Linked DNA regions of Homo sapiens: all the other regions are linked to region 1. The links are contacts of gene promoters, found by promoter capture Hi-C in blood cells and fetal thymus (Javierre and others, 2016). All regions are on one chromosome and are shown on one strand. The core of a region is centred on a gene start or on the middle of the fragment in contact, and the rest is flanking DNA. Distances in the headings are between cores, read along the strand shown. Region 1 holds the start of PORCN (porcupine O-acyltransferase). Region 2 holds the start of FOXP3 (forkhead box P3). Region 3 holds the start of ZNF81 (zinc finger protein 81).

Region 1 (5,092 bases), core at 2,064-4,563:
CTTGAAGATTACATGAGCCCAGGAGTTCAAAGATGCAGTGAACCATGATTGTGTCAATGCCCTCAAGCTTGCGTAATAGGGCAAGACCCTGTCTCCAAAAAAAAAGAAAAAAAATTACAAAGGGAAAAATAGTAAATTTATACTGGTGAAAACTAGAAGACCACTTTAAGCAAAAGATCAATGCTAATACTAACAATTTCGAGACTAACTGAACCCTCCTGCCTCCTGATAACGCTGAGAACACAGCGTCACTTCTGTGGAATTCCTGCCAAAAATGCAGAATTCAAATCTAATCATGAGGAGACATCAGATAAACCCAAATTGAAGGACATTCTTCCAAAGAACTGGTCTGTGCTCTCCCAAAACATCAAGATCATGAAAGTTAAGTGAAGATGGAGACATTGTTCCACATTGGAGGAGACTAAAAAAACCTGATAACAGAATGTATCTTGTGACCCTATGATTCCCTTTTCCTATACAAGGACACTATTGACATGCCCACCAGGGTGGCTAGAACCAAAAAGTCAGATAACAAGTATTTGTGAGGATGTGGAGCAATGGAAACCTCATACTATGCTGGTAGCAATGTAAAAAAAGAAAAAAAAGTCCTTGCTCTTAGGATATTCATACTGAAGTATTTAGTTAAAAGGGTGTCATATCCGCAACCACTAACAAATAATTCAGAAAAATCACTGTATATCATTCAGAAAAATTATATATATGTAAATTACATATGTATATACATGGGGAGAAAGAAACGGACAGAGACAGAGAGAGAGCAAATATGTTATCATTATAAGGCTTGGCATTTTTGTCAGTCCCATAAGTGAAAAATAGTATATCATTGTTTTTAATTTGTATCTCTTTAATTATGGAGAGCTCATCTAAAACACCCCAGAAACCACAACCTAGAATGACCACAGACATTTATTGAGTGTCCACCCTCTACTAAGCTCCAGTGATAAAAATATGAAGCACAACATCTGGTAGATGTAAAATGGTATTATATCTCACTGTTGTTTTAATTTTACATTTCCCTGAGCAGTAAAGAGATTGGGTTATCTTTTCATATATTATACATATTGACCATTTTAGGTTTCTTCTGCTGTGAATTACCTATTTGTACCCAATGTCTATTGCCAAGTGTATTGTTTGTCCTCTTCGGATTTGTAGATGTTCGTTATATATCCTAAAACCTAGATCCTACTTCTTTGTGACACAGGTCAAAAGCCTAGATGGAAACAATCAAGTCCGCAAAGCCCAGGAGCACATGTGGTAAGAATCTTCCAGTTTTAAATGCCAAGTCTTGCAATTGAGGGAAGTATTTCTGGTAGGTGCTGTGGGTCATTGTTGACTCAACTTGAGTGGGTTTGACAACTGAGAAAAAAATTAAAATGAAATTTAATTCATAAAATGTATGTCCTGTATTCTGCTGTTAAGGAAAAGAATTGATATTTGTGCATCTGGTCTAAGCTATTATTCCTTATATATACATATTCTTACCGTATTAAATGTTTTTTGTTTGTAATACATGAATACTAATTTATGAGCTAGAACTCCATTTAACTTCATGTTAAAATAGAGAGAAAATATACATTTCTCTTCAATTACCATTGGTGTTTCCCAGCAAAAACCTGCCAAGCCCACTCTTTTGTTTAACAGAAAAGGACAATGGAGACGGGTGAGTGAACATGACTTGCCCAGCTCCATACAGGCCATTGTTAATCTGATTAAAATCTGTTTCAGTTGGCTGCCCAGGTCAGGGTGGCGTCCAGTTTGACCTGGGCTTCCTTCTCCCTTCCACGTCACAGCTAAGCATGTAGTGCAGTAAGCGCCCAGTAAGTGCTCTTTTGGAAAAATAGGCCCTTCATCAGCCTAGGTACAAAGGGGAATGCCTAGAAACTGCAGCAGTAGGGTAGGTAGAAGGCGGGTGCTACATAAATCTTTAGTGTTGGTGCAGATAGAGGTGCGGATGGGGCCAGTGTAAGCGCTTTCTTTTTTATTTTATTTATTTATTTATTTAGAGAAGGAGTTTCGCTCTTGTTTATTTATTTATTTATTTTGGAGAAGGAGTTTTGCTCTTGTCACCCAGGCTGGAGTGCAATGGCGTGATCTCGGCTCACTGCAACCTCCGTCTCCTGGGCTCAAGTGATTCTCCTGCCTCAGCCTCCGGAGTAGCTGGGATTACAGGCGCCCAGCTAAATTTTTTGTATTTTTAGTAGAGACAGGGTTTCGCCATATTGGCCAGCCTGGTCTCAAACTCATGACCTCAGGTGATCCATCCGCCTCGGCCTTCCAAAGTGCTGGGTTACAGGTGTGAGCCACCACGCCCAGTCTTTATTTATTTATTTTGAGACGGAGTTTCGCTCTTGTAGCCCACAATGACGCGATCTTGGCTCACTGCAACCTCTGCCTCCTGATTCTCCTGCTTTAACCTCCCGAGTAGCTGGGATTACAAGCGTGCGCCACCACGCCTGGCTAATTTTTGTATTTTTAGTAGAGACGGGGTTTCGCCATGTTGGCCAGGCTGGTCTCGAACTCCTGACCTCAAGCTATCCTCCTACCCTTGGCCTCCCGAAGTGCTGGGTTTATAGGCGTGAGCCACCGAGCCTGGCCCTTAAGAGCTTTATAAATGCCCCCCTTTTAAGTGCTCGGTACTAGCCTCCCTCTAGTTCACAGAGAACATTTACTAGTCGCTGGGGTCACCTTCGAAGCAAAGAGTCTGCTGGGGAATTAAGCATGCAAATCACTTCTCAACGACGACACGCCAAGTGCTCACAGCTCGTCCCCAGGGGAAGCACAGGCGCCTAATTTGTGTTCCTAGGTGACACAGTCATTACTTATAAATGTTCCTGGCCGGTCCCAGGAGGTGGGAGGGTTGGGAGTTACTTCGGTTCTCTCAAAGGTTGGGGAAGGAGAGATCTCGGTTTGTTTTCCCATCTGTGAAACGGGGACACCACGGTATTTAGAGGACGTGCGCGGGTGACTATTTGGGGGTGCAGCGGCTTCCCTCCTCCCTCCCCCATCTTTCCCTTCTCACTTCCAAGGCTTGGAAATTTGGAGATTCGGAAGTTTGTTCTTGGATGGCCAGAAATCCTCCGGAGGCAGACGGTCTGGGGCTGAAACCGCCACAGGCCGGAAAGGTGCGGGCGTGAACGTCCTGCGCGCCGACGTCCCCCCGCGCCGGTCTCCCCTCAATCCTCCTGCTCCCCTCCTCCGCGTCCCCGTCCCCGCCCCCCTCCTGCTCTCCCATTGGCCGAGCCGGCGGCCGGGCCGCCCCGGGATTTAAAGGGCCCGCTCGCCGCGCCGCTCTGGGAGCCGCTGCTGGTCCCGGCCTTGCGGCCTGCGGGGGAGGCTGCCCGGAGGAGGCAGCGGCGGCGGCAGCGCGTCCTCGGTCCCCAGGACCACGGCTTCTTTCCTGCCAGGTAGGTCGCCAGTAGTGCGCACGCGGCTCCCCAGCTCCCATCCCTGGGCCGGCCTCCCCAGGCGGATCTGTAGCGCGAGTGCTAGGACCCCCTCCCCATCACCTTTCCGACTCTCCCTCAGGCTATGTCTCCTACCACCACCTCCTTGCAGCCCCCGGACCTGGGCAGGACTTTGTTGGCGGCCTCTCGCCGGGTGGGGATGAGATGGGGGGCGCGGAGGATACAGGACACCCCCCCTCCCCGTGCCGCCGCATCCATACAAGGAGAGATGCACACGGCCCCCAAGTGTCACAGAATCCCCCTCTCTGCCCTCCACTCAGAGCGACTCTACCTTGGAAACCAGGGATTCCCCTTCCCGTCGCCCGCCCCATTTGATATATGGGCCTGAAATGTATGCCATCCCATCACCATCGGACTGGACTGTTCACAGCACTGGAGAGACAGAGGTCCTTCATTCACTCCAGGTCACAGGCTGTGCGTGTGCATGCCGAACACCCACATGCACACAGTTGGTGGCTCAGTCTGATGTACCTGACTTCTCACGCCTTCCCCCAGTCCTCCAGTACCGTGCCTCTACATGGGCTGGGCAGCCCCAAACTGAAATGTGAGTGCCAGAGTGCATCCTTTAAGCGAGGTCTGCCCCACGGACACCCGCTCCCTCTGTGTCCCTGCTTTGACAGATCTATCCATCTGGCCATCCATCCGTGGGGGTCTGCAATGGCCACCTTTAGCCGCCAGGAATTTTTCCAGCAGCTACTGCAAGGCTGTCTCCTGCCTACTGCCCAGCAGGGCCTTGACCAGATCTGGCTGCTCCTTGCCATCTGCCTCGCCTGCCGCCTCCTCTGGAGGCTCGGTAAGTGCCTGCCATACCGTGTGCCACCATGCCAGGCCATATCAGACCTCCCACATTCATCCATATCGAGCCACACCTTACCCTGTCACATCCTGCCAGGCCCTAGCATGTCCAAGCTGGACCCCAACATGTTCAGCCCCACCACATCCCACCAGGCCAAACCCCATTCCACCATACCACATCCTACTATGCCAGCCACCCCATGCCATGCCACACCGAGCCACATCCTGCCATGCCAAGCCATGCCCTTCAGTATTCCTGAGTTCTGGGATTCCAGAAAGCTGAGATTCTTGGATCTTGGGATTCTGAAATGTCTACATCCCAAGGTTATAAGACATTGGCATGCTGATGTCACAGGGTTATGGAATCCCAAAGTACCATGATTACAGCGTTTGGAGATTCTGACAATTTGAAATTCTCACATTCTAGACTTCTAAAATGTTGGCATTGTGGATTTCTATAATCAGGGCATGATGCGATTTCTGGATTCTAGGATTCTGAAATGTTTCCACAGTCATAGCAGGCCTGTATCTTAATGAAAGATTCCAAGTCCCCAAGATTCCTATAGGAGGCGGAGATTTCTGGAAATCTGAGATCCGAAGGTTCTACACTTTCTTTTTTCTTTCTTTCTTTTTTAATTTTAAATGGATGTTCTATTTTTTCCCAGGTTTATTATTTTGAAATTTTTCAAAGCTACTGAAATGTTGAAAAAATAGTACAGTGAGCACCCACGTATGCATCACCAGATTCTCTGTCAACATCTTGCCACGTTAGCTGGCTCTATCTGTCTATCTATCTATCTATCTGTATATCT
Region 2 (5,092 bases), core at 2,571-5,070, 760 kb after region 1:
CTGCCCTGTCCTGCAGCAGGCTTGGCCCAGGTGGGGTGACATGGGTGCTGGTGGATGTGGTAGGTGATGTCCATCTGGCCACTATGACAAGCCCCTAGCTCTGAAGACCTGGCCCTTCTTGGGTTGTGGAGAGGACCCAGGTTTGAAGCTCTGAGAGTGCCAGGCAGGCTCCACAGATACTGGGACCCCTGGGGTCTTCAAATAGTATAACACCAGGACCTCAGAATCATAGAACAGCATTTCTTAGATTTAAAGGATCCTAGAATCTCAAAACCACAGACTGTGGGGTCTACGGTCCCAAAGTCTCAGTATGTGTAGGCCAGTGTCCCTGGTGTCCAAACTCCTTGGAACCATCTGAAAGTCAGGCAGCTTGCTGCTTCATAGGGCCTCTTGCCTACCAGGCCTGGAAACAGAGCCAGCCTCCCTAGGGCCTCAGTCTCCCTGTCCACTCTGGAACAACGTTCCCAAATACATGGCCACTCCGCCAGAGATGGCAACAGGGGGAGGAGGAGGTTGAGGCTGGTGTGCCTTTGGTCTGGGCCTCATGGGGGGAGCTGGAAAAGCCTCAGCCTTCGCCAATACAGAGCCCATCATCAGACTCTCTAGAGGGGCCCCACAATCAAGGTTTTCGGGGACCAGCACCAGCTCTGGGGACACACAGCCTGACTGACTGACATGCCTCCATCATCACCACGCTCTGGCCAACTAGGCCTCCTGACCTATGGAGTCCGGGGCCTCACCTAGCCCAGCTCTTGTGAGGCTGGGCCCCACACTGTGATCGTGGATCGTCCAACCTGTGGGAAGTTGGGGTCCAACGTGTGAGAAGGCAGAAGGGGGAATGGTAGCCCAGGTTCCCCTTCCCCCTTCTGGGTGCTGAGGGGTAAACTGAGGCCTGCAGTTGGGGAGAGAGCCAGAACCAGGGTCCCACCTAGAGTCCTGAGATCTAGGCTTGGATTTCAACTCTGCCGCTGCATTTCGGTGAGGCCCTGAGATCTCTGGTCTTCAATTTGCCCTTCTACACTGAGCACGGAGAGGCGTGGAGTAGACAAGGGCCAGGGCCCTTCTACGCTGTCTGGTTAAGTCATTAGGTGTCTGCAGGGCTTCAAGTTGACAATTGCCCCTCTATCCAGGGGACTGGCTGAGAGATAGGGATACATAGAGACAAAGAGACACACACAAAGAGCGAGCAAGAGAGAACAAGAGATAGTGAGAGACATTGAGAGAAATGGACACATGCATGGAGAGCCAGAGTGCATGTGTGCGAGAGGAGGATTGCCTCAAATAAGAACATTTGCTGGTCTCTGGCTGGTTCAACTGATGCTGCCTGAAATAATCAAGAATAAAGAAGGGCAAGGTGCCAGGGACACCCATGGCTGGGTATTGAATTGTATTGCAAAGCAACAATCAGCAAAACAGTGTGGCCCTGGTATAAGAACAGATACTGGGGAAGAGAACAGAATAGAAAGCTTGGACATGGACCCACATATGGAGAGAACTGAATTTGTGATGAATGTGGCATTTCAAACTGGAGGACCATGGAGTATGGTTTAACAAATGTGTCTGAGATAATTAGGGAGAAGATAAAGTTATTGAGTGAATAGTCAGTCCATTATCCCAACAACCCCTCCCTGCCCAGTTTGAAATGTCACCATCATCATATACCCTAAAATGCCCAGATCCATTCAAGATATAAGTTTTAACACCTAATGCTGATCTTGGGTTTATTGTGTGTCAGGCCTTGTGCTAAGTATTTACTGTGGTTAAAAATTTTAATCTAAACAAAGACTCCTGAGGAAGGTACTATTATAACCATTGCAGTACATATGAGGAAATGGAGGTATGGAGAGGTTAAGTGCCTGGCTAAAAATCACACATAGGGCTTGGGGTGACGCTGGGTTTGTCCCAGACAGTCTGGCTCCAGTACCCACACTCTTAACCTCTATAGTAAATGGAAAAAATGAAGCCATAAAAGAGACTAGAAGCCAACATAGGTGAACATTTATCTCATTTTCAAGTAGGAAAGGACTTTCTAAGCACAAAACCAGAGACAGAAGCCACAGAAAAAAAGACTAACCTATTTGACTGTATAAAACCATCATAAGCATCACAAAAAACACCATAAACAAATAGAAAAAAAGCAAATGATGAATTGGGGAAAATATTTGCTATATATGTAATGGCTGATGAAAGGTTAATAACCATTCCAAATAAAGAGCTGTGGCAAATCAATAAGGGAAAAATAAGATGAACACCCTATTAGGAGTAAGGACATGACCAGACAACCAAAAAAAAAAAAAAAAAAGCATGAATGGCCAATGAATAGTAAAAGTAATCACAAGATGCAAATTTCAACAATGTGATAATGTGTTTTTCTTACCTGTCATGTTGGGAAATAATTAAAACATAATAATACTCACCTAGGGTTAGCTTAAGTAGAGGGAGCATAAAATAGGACAACCTTTTGGAAGGAGAATTAGCAGAGAGGGTCATAAACTTTAAAAATGCACGCCCCCTTTGCCCCAGCAACTCCCTTTTCAGGAATCCAAGGAAGCAGTCAGGGATGTTTATAGAAAAAAACGAGAAACAACCGGAATGTCCAACAATCGGCACTTGGTCAAATCAATCAAAGTTCATGCTGATGTGAGGACAGTCTTGTCCATCATGAAAGATCATGTGTTCAAACAATTTTTAGTAAGCTTCAAAAACACTACTGTTAATTGAATAAAGCAGGAACAAAACCAATATATAGCATGATTCTAATTTGGTTACAGAAATACTAATAGCTAACACTTCGTGAGCACTTACTTTGTGCCAAACGCTGTGCTAAGCCTGCAGAATCGAGCTCACCCCAGCCCTGAACAACCTGTTTGCTTCCTGAATATGGACTCTGGTCACACACATGCAGTCCTGGGGTAGGTCCACACAGCTAAACTACGGTTGACAATGGTGTGAAGTGCTCCCTGCCCCCCCGCCCCAAGGGTCTCCTCTAAAGCGATACAAGCAAAGTTCAGTTAAGTGCTCAGCTTGCCCCGGCACCTTGCAATCCTCCTGCTACTAGGGTGAACAGAACTGATGCTCACTCTCATAAAATGTAAAGGTCCTCGGCGACATTACTATTATTAAACGCCAGCTGTGTACAAAGCTCTAGGCTGGATGCTGGCTGGGAAGGCAGGTGGGGGAAGGCAAGAAAAGAGAGCGGGAGAGATGGAGGAAAGGAGATCGATGGAGTGTGGTCAAGATGGAGGAGACAGAGATAGGGGAGATGGTCAGAGGCCAGGAGAGATGCGGGGAAAGAGAGTCTGAGTGTAGCGACAGACAGATGGCGGGAGAAAGAGAGGCAGAGAAACATGTAAAAGAGCAAGACAGGGTGAGCAGAGAGACAGAGAAGGATGAGAGGCATCAAGAGCTAAGAGACAAAGAGATGAGAGAGATGCAGTTGAAATTTTCAGTTGCACCTGGACAGCATTTCAAGTTGTTCAAAGCTCTGAAATCCATAAAGACTGGCAGCTGACATATTTTAAAAATCCTATCCATCTACGTATCAATTGATGAATTCATTTATTTTTGCCCCTGCCCATGCATTAAGTACTTCACCTTTAAGTCTTCTGCCATTTATTCTATTATTTTTTTAAAGACCTTACCTGGCTGGAATCACGGTAGCTGGGTACATCCCACTGTACCAGAGGGCCCCTGACCCCCCCGCCGTGCCTACCTCCCTGCCATCTCCTCCAATGGGGCCCACATCTGGTAGGGGAGAGCAGGGACACTCACCTTGGTGAAGTGGACTGACAGAAAAGGATCAGCCTGGCTTGTGGGAAACTGTCACGTATCAAAAACAACTTTGCTTTTATACCGAGAAGAAAAACCACGCTGTACGGTGTGGAAGCCGCAGACCTCTCTCTTCTAATAATCCAAATTTTTTTCGATGAGTGTGTGCGCTGATAATCACGGGGTGGGGAGGGGTTCTCATAGTTTTTTTTTTCTCTCTCTCTGTGTTTCTCCTTTTCTTGATTATGAGACTTAAACGGAAATTTTGAAATTTTGGGTTTTTTTCTTTGCCCTTTACGAGTCATCTGAAAATATGATTTCTTCCCCTCACCACAGAGGTGAGAGGTATCAATGAGATAATAGGGCTCATGAGAAACCACAGTTTTTAAAACAAAAGTGTATAGAGTTTGAAAAAAAAAAAACAAGGGAAAAGAACTAAAATAAATCACAGGGCCAACCCGAGGCAGGCAGAGACACCATTCTGTGAGTGAGAGGATATTTGAGGGTCTCTGGGGAAAGAAAGAGAATCTGAAGCTCTATGTGTGGATGGGAAATGCCAGGGAAAGAGACAGAATAGGGCTGGGTTCCCAGAGGCCTCGCCCTACTCCAGGCCTCAGTTTCCCTATAGATGGAATTGATATGGTCCCCATTGCTTGAACTACCCGGCGAGGGGAGTTCTGCACCCCCTGCAACACCCCTCCCACAGAGGGTGAGGGGCATGTAAGTTACTTCATGGAGGAGAAAGCGGAGAGCCCACTGTCATCCCCTAAAATTCATGGACTTGAAGAGTCGGAGAATCCCTGGCTCCCAGAATCTACTGACAGTTACTGAATGAGGAAAGAGAGAAAAGTCTCGCCTCATCACGTTTTAGGGCTTGAGTGCCCTGACCCAGCCACTGTCCCACTGGGAAGGTCCCTAGCAGGTCCCCAATATTAATGCATCCATCCTCACGATGAACCCCAGAGGCCCATTGGGACCCTGACCCTCTTGTTTCAGGAACATCATGGCCTGATGCTTCTGAGGCCCTCAGCCTTTGGGGTCTTTTACTTCAAAAAGCCCCAGTTTCCAAGGATTTAGGATTCCAAATATCCGCCATCATCTCAGTAGCTGATGTTTATCTTGAATTTTCCATGGGTCAGATACAGTGCTGAACATGTCTCACAAGTGATCATGTTCAATCCTCACCATGGCCCCTTGAGCTCCATCTCATCATTATTGTATTCCTGTTATACAGATGAGGGAAACGGAGGTATAAGTAGTCAAGCAACTTGCCCAAGATCACAGAGCTGGCGAGTGTGGGTCCCGCTTTCTTTGGTGCTGGGCT
Region 3 (5,092 bases), core at 819-3,318, 670 kb before region 1:
CTCTGCCATGGAATAATGCAGCAATAAGGCCCTCACCAGATGCTGGCACCAAGTTGGACTTCCCAATCTCCAGAACTATGAGCCAAATAAGCTTATTTTCTTTATAAATTACCCAATCTGTGATATTCTGTTACAGTAGCAGAAAATGGACAAAGATACCAACTCTCTAAAAAAATTAAAATGAAAATCGGACTATAAAAATCTGCCTTGCTATTCATCAGGATGGAAGAACAGACACATATAAAGCCAAATGCAAAATTCACAGGAAACATTATTTCTTCTAAGGACAGGCTGCAGTTGTAATGCCATAAAGAACCCCTACTTTAAGTGCCTATTGCTTTCTTGGTCAATGAGAAACTTTGTTCTCTACAATCATAGACTATCAGAAACTTTGCTGTTTGAAATGATATCAGTAAGAGGGAAACATCTGATTCTCATGGGAGATTCTAAGTCACTTCCAGACAGAGAAGCAAGATTCAATTTTCAACCCAGGTGCAAAGCTTTAGGCAAGAGTTATCTGGGGACACAAAATTCTACATCTAAATTGTTTCCAAGGAAACAGCACTCTGGGTTCACTTCACAGTCCAGACCTGACAATTACCCTTTACATACAGCCCTGCTTTCCTTTGAGCCCACTAAAACACTGCTTCATTTAATTTCATCTGAACTCCACTATTCCTCAAAATCCTATAAGAACTCTATCTTTTCCTTTGCTTAGTGAGCTGCCCATGGTGCCCCTGGTGTGCAGTCTCCCTTATTGATTGCTGGATCTGTCAGACTAAAAATTAGTTTGAGGCTAATTGGACTAGGACACCTCTAACCTTCGAGATTGTTAAACCGAGGGCCAGAGGGGATAAGACTGGATTGAGAGCCCCCAGCAAGTCCACACTTCAGCCTACACCAGGTCCTCTCAAAATATTTTTTTCACCTGAGGATTCAGAAAGGCTTTCAGGAGGGCACACAGGCTTCTAGCTCTGTCAGGATTCTCTGGAGGAGGAGATATTTGAACTTGATTTTGAAGGATGAATAGGCATTCTTAGGTGAAGGACTGCACGACTTCTTCCCCTTCTGCTCCAGTGACATCTCCCAGAGGGCAGGGGCATCTCCAGAATTTACACATTGGAGGTGATATGGAGCAGCAAACTGGTTGAAGGGTAGAAGCAGAGCCTTGTATTAAAGCTACATTTCCAAAGTAAGGGCACCATGACCACATATATTTTACTTCATGAGGAAATAAAAATAATAAAGTTTCCTAAAGATTTTTATTGACATATTGCATTGGACTAAGGACACATTAAAAATTATTAGTATTGGTACTACGTAGTCCCTTTTTAGCTGGGGTAGATGGAGTGGGAGATAAGGTAAATTGCTGCAGCATTCAAACCTCGCATCCAAGCCCCACAGGCACAGCAGGAGGGGAACCCAGCACTCTGAGTTCTCCCTTTTTCCCACCTCATGGCATATCCTAGGAGGGCTTGCATAACCATGATTTCTCCTCCTCCTCCTCCCCTTGTGGTATGTCCTAGGAGAAGCCTGTAACCAGCCTGACATCTCCCCGCTTCTCATCCTGTGGTATCTGCCAGGAGATAGCCGCGGCCGCCCCTGATTCTTTCCAAGAGGCCCTTCAGTTTCTCGGAGCGGTATCACACAGATCCATAGACTACAGGTCCAAAGACCCCCTCCTCCAGTTAGCCCGCCCAGAGAAACGTCCCCACCCGTGCTCCCTGCCACCAGCGGGACAGCTCCACCTGAGTTTAGAGCAGACAGCTCTAAACTCACAGCCTGCTCTGTGAGTTCAGAGGTGTCCTCATCCTCAATACGGATGGACACTCCTCCAACATGGTGTATCCCATGGGGAAGCGCGACGTGGGCGCGGCCATGTTCCCCACCTGACCACGCCGCCGAGGGGTACCGAACGTCCCAAAGCACCCACTTCCGTAACTTCTCCATGTTGACTCCTGGCTAACAGCAGCTTCAAAGGTGGTTTTGCGCACGCGCGGAACCTCCGCTTCCCTCATTCATGTGAAGTCCCAAACCCCGAAAAAGGGCGGTGCTAGGGGTAGTGACCGGAAGCGGCTGCGGTTCTCGCCGGTTCTCAGCCGGGGTTTGATAGTTGTCAGGAGGATTCGACGTTCAGTGCCCAGGGATGTGGAGGTGATGGGGGGCCGGGGAGGGTGAGTGCTGGGCGATTCTGTGTGGCCAGTGATGGAATCGTTTATCTAACTTGAGTTGGATGATTCACTCATCATTTTGCAGGCTTTTCTCTTTTCTAACATCACCGTTAAGGTCTTAAAGTTCATTCTAAGCCCCATTGGGTTTGGAGCATTATGTTTTTTAAGAGTGTTAACTTGTATTCATTTGTCTTTTACCCGGGAGTTATTCAAAAGTGGGGTTTCAGTGTGCAAAAGTTTATCTCTGTAATGGATCTCTAACCTTAGTTTTCTGTGTTAGAAAAATATCTACGTGAAGCTCATTCCTTGAAATATAAGGAGACTTATGGCCTAGTCCGTGGTGAATTTTTAGAAACGTTCTATATATAACTTGAAAATAATATTTAATTATTTAGTCGTCAATTGTGTCATAGAAAATCTATCCTTTTTTGTCTGCTTCTTCTATTACTTCGAGGAGAGAGAAATTCTCCACTGTGATGGTGATTTGTCTGTGTCTCCTTACTGCTGTCTGTGATCCTCTGTGAGTTACTTTTTGTATAAAGTATGAGACTTAGGTCGAGGTGCATTAATTTGCTTATGGATGTCCAGACTGAAGCACCATTTGTTGAAAAGACTATCTTTCCTCCATTGACTTGTCTTTCACCATTGTCAAAAATAAGTTGGCCATACTTGTGTGTGGGCTCTTTCTGGGTTTGCTATTCAGTTCATTGTCTATGTGTCTATCCCTCTGCCAGTACTACCTTGCTGTCTTGAATTGGATAGAGTGATTCCTCTCACTTTATTCTTTTTCAAAATTGTTTTAATGCCTCTGGTTCCCTTGCCTTTCCTATATGCATTTTAGAAAATCTTGTCTCTATCTACAAAGCATCTTGCTTGGATTTTGATAGGAATTGCATTAAACCTGTATACCAACTCGGGAAGAAGTTAAGTCTTAACTGTGCCAAGTCTTCCAATCCATATACATAGTATGTCTCTCTATTTATTTAGATCTTTTAAAATTTCTATAAATGGTGTATTTTAATTTTCATCACCCAAGTTCTGTACATGTCTTATTCAATTTATACCTAAGTATTTAATTGTTTTGGAGTGGTCATAAATGGTGTTATCTTTTAAATTGTTGCTTATATATAGGAATACAATTGAGTTTTGTCTGTTGGTCTTGTATCCTGCAATCTTGCTGAGCTCAATTATTAGGTTTTACACCTTTTTTGGCAGATTCCTTGGATTTTCTGCATGAGCAATCATGTCATATACAAACAGGGATAGTTTTATTTCTTTCTTTCCAATCTTTATACCTCTGCTTTTCTTCCCTTATTACACTGGCAAGAAGTTCCAGTACTATGTTGAATAAGAGAGTGGACATCTTTGCATTGTTTTCAGTCTTAGGGGGAAAATATTCAACCTTTTACCATTAAGTATGATTTTAGCTGTAGGGCTTTCTTTTTTTGGACCCTCTTTTTTGGTTGAGGAAGTTCCCCTCTATTTTTAATTTCAAAAGTAGTTTTTATCGTGAATGGGTGTTGAATTTCATCAACACTCTGAATTTTGATGATCTTGTGATTTTTTTTCTTTTTTAGCTTGTCAGTATGGAGGGTTATGCTGATTGATTTTTGAATATTGAACTAGTCTTACATTCCTGGAATAAACCCTACTTGGTTGTGATGTATAATTCTTTGGATATATTGAAGGAATTGATTAGCTAATGCTTTTTTGAGGATTTTTGCATCTAAGTTCATGGGAAATATTTGTCTATAGTTTTCTTTTTTATACTATCTTTGTCTGGTTTTATTTTTTATTTTTGAGACAGGCTCTCACTCTGTTCCTCAGGCTGGAATGCAGTGGTGTGACCATGGCTTACTGCAGCCTTGACCTCCCAGCCTCAAGTGATTCTTCCACCTCAGCCTCCTGAGTAGCTGGGACTCCAGGCACACGCCACCACACCCAACTAATTTTATTATTTTTTGTAAACCGGGTCTCACTATGTTGCCCAGGCTGGTCTCAATCTCCTGGGCTCAAATAGTCCTCCTGCCTCAGCCTCTCAAAGTGCTGGGATTACAGGTGTTAGCCACTGCTCTTGGCTTTGTCTGGTTTTAGTATTAGGGTAATACTGGCCTCATTGAATGAGTTGGGGACTATTTCCTCCTCTTCTGTTTTCTGGAAGAGACTGTGTAGAATAAGTACTAATTTTTATTTAAATATTTAAATATTTGGTAGACTTCTCCAGTGAAGCCATCTGGGCCTGGAAACTTCCATTTGGAAGCTTTTTGATCATGGCTTCAATGTCTGTAATAGTTATGTAACTATTCAGATTATCTATTTAATATCATTTTAGACTACAGGTTAAGCATCCCTAATTCAAAAATCTGAAATCCAAAATGCTTCAAAATCCAAAACTTTCTGAGTGCCAACATAATGCCACAAGCAAAATTTCACACCTGATTTTGTGACAGGTCACAGTCAAAATGCAGTGAAAACTTTGTTTCATGCACAAAATTATTAAACATGTTATATAAAATTACCTTCAGGCTATGTTATAAGGTAACATAGTGTACATGAAACATAAATGAATTCTGTGTGTATACTTGGGTCTCATTCTGCAAGATACTTTATTATGTATATGCATATATTCCAAAATAAAAAAAAACTGAAATCTGAAACACTTCTGTTCCCAAGCATTTTGGATAAGAGACATTCAACCTGCATTTAATAGTGGGTGAATTGTGGTACTTTGCATTTTACAAGGAATTGGACTGTTTCATCCAAGTTGTTGAATTTATGTGCACAAAGTTGTTGTGGTATTCCCTTACTATCCTTTTAATGCAAGCTTGTCCAACCCGCTGTCCGTGGGCCACATGTGGCTCCGGACAGCTTGGAATGCAGCCCAACACAAATTCGTAAACTTTCTTAAAATATTGTGAGTT

What was found. The method cuts DNA at HindIII sites, captures the fragments that hold promoters and counts their contacts. A CHiCAGO score of 5 or more calls a contact.
Region 2: the fragment with the promoter of FOXP3 here is called in contact with the fragment with the promoter of PORCN in region 1 in 2 of 17 cell types (activated CD4 T cells and neutrophils); the score reaches 7.2 in activated CD4 T cells.
Region 3: a contact is called between the fragment with the promoter of ZNF81 here and the fragment with the promoter of PORCN in region 1, in 2 of 17 cell types (M0 macrophages and neutrophils). The highest score is 5.5, in M0 macrophages.

Annotation. Positions count from the first base shown.
Region 1 is chrX:48,505,679-48,510,770 of GRCh38, forward strand. It overlaps PORCN (porcupine O-acyltransferase), which reads left to right and starts at 3,314. Exons shown (of 15, transcript NM_203475.3): 1 at 3,314-3,425; 2 at 4,106-4,278. The coding sequence starts at 4,143. PORCN-DT (PORCN divergent transcript) reads right to left here and starts at 3,161. Exons shown (of 2, transcript NR_135596.1): 1 at 3,041-3,161; 2 at 848-1,377. RefSeq lists a silencer at 3,141-3,540. The HindIII fragment of the contact is 7,257 bases long and covers 66-5,092 here.
Region 2 is chrX:49,260,890-49,265,981 of GRCh38, forward strand. It overlaps FOXP3 (forkhead box P3), which reads right to left and starts at 3,821. Exons shown (of 12, transcript NM_014009.4): 1 at 3,772-3,821. The HindIII fragment of the contact is 2,410 bases long and covers 2,695-5,092 here.
Region 3 is chrX:47,834,834-47,839,925 of GRCh38, forward strand. ZNF81 (zinc finger protein 81) reads left to right here and starts at 2,069. Exons shown (of 5, transcript NM_007137.5): 1 at 2,069-2,154. RefSeq lists an enhancer at 1,817-2,196. The HindIII fragment of the contact is 3,931 bases long and covers 499-4,429 here.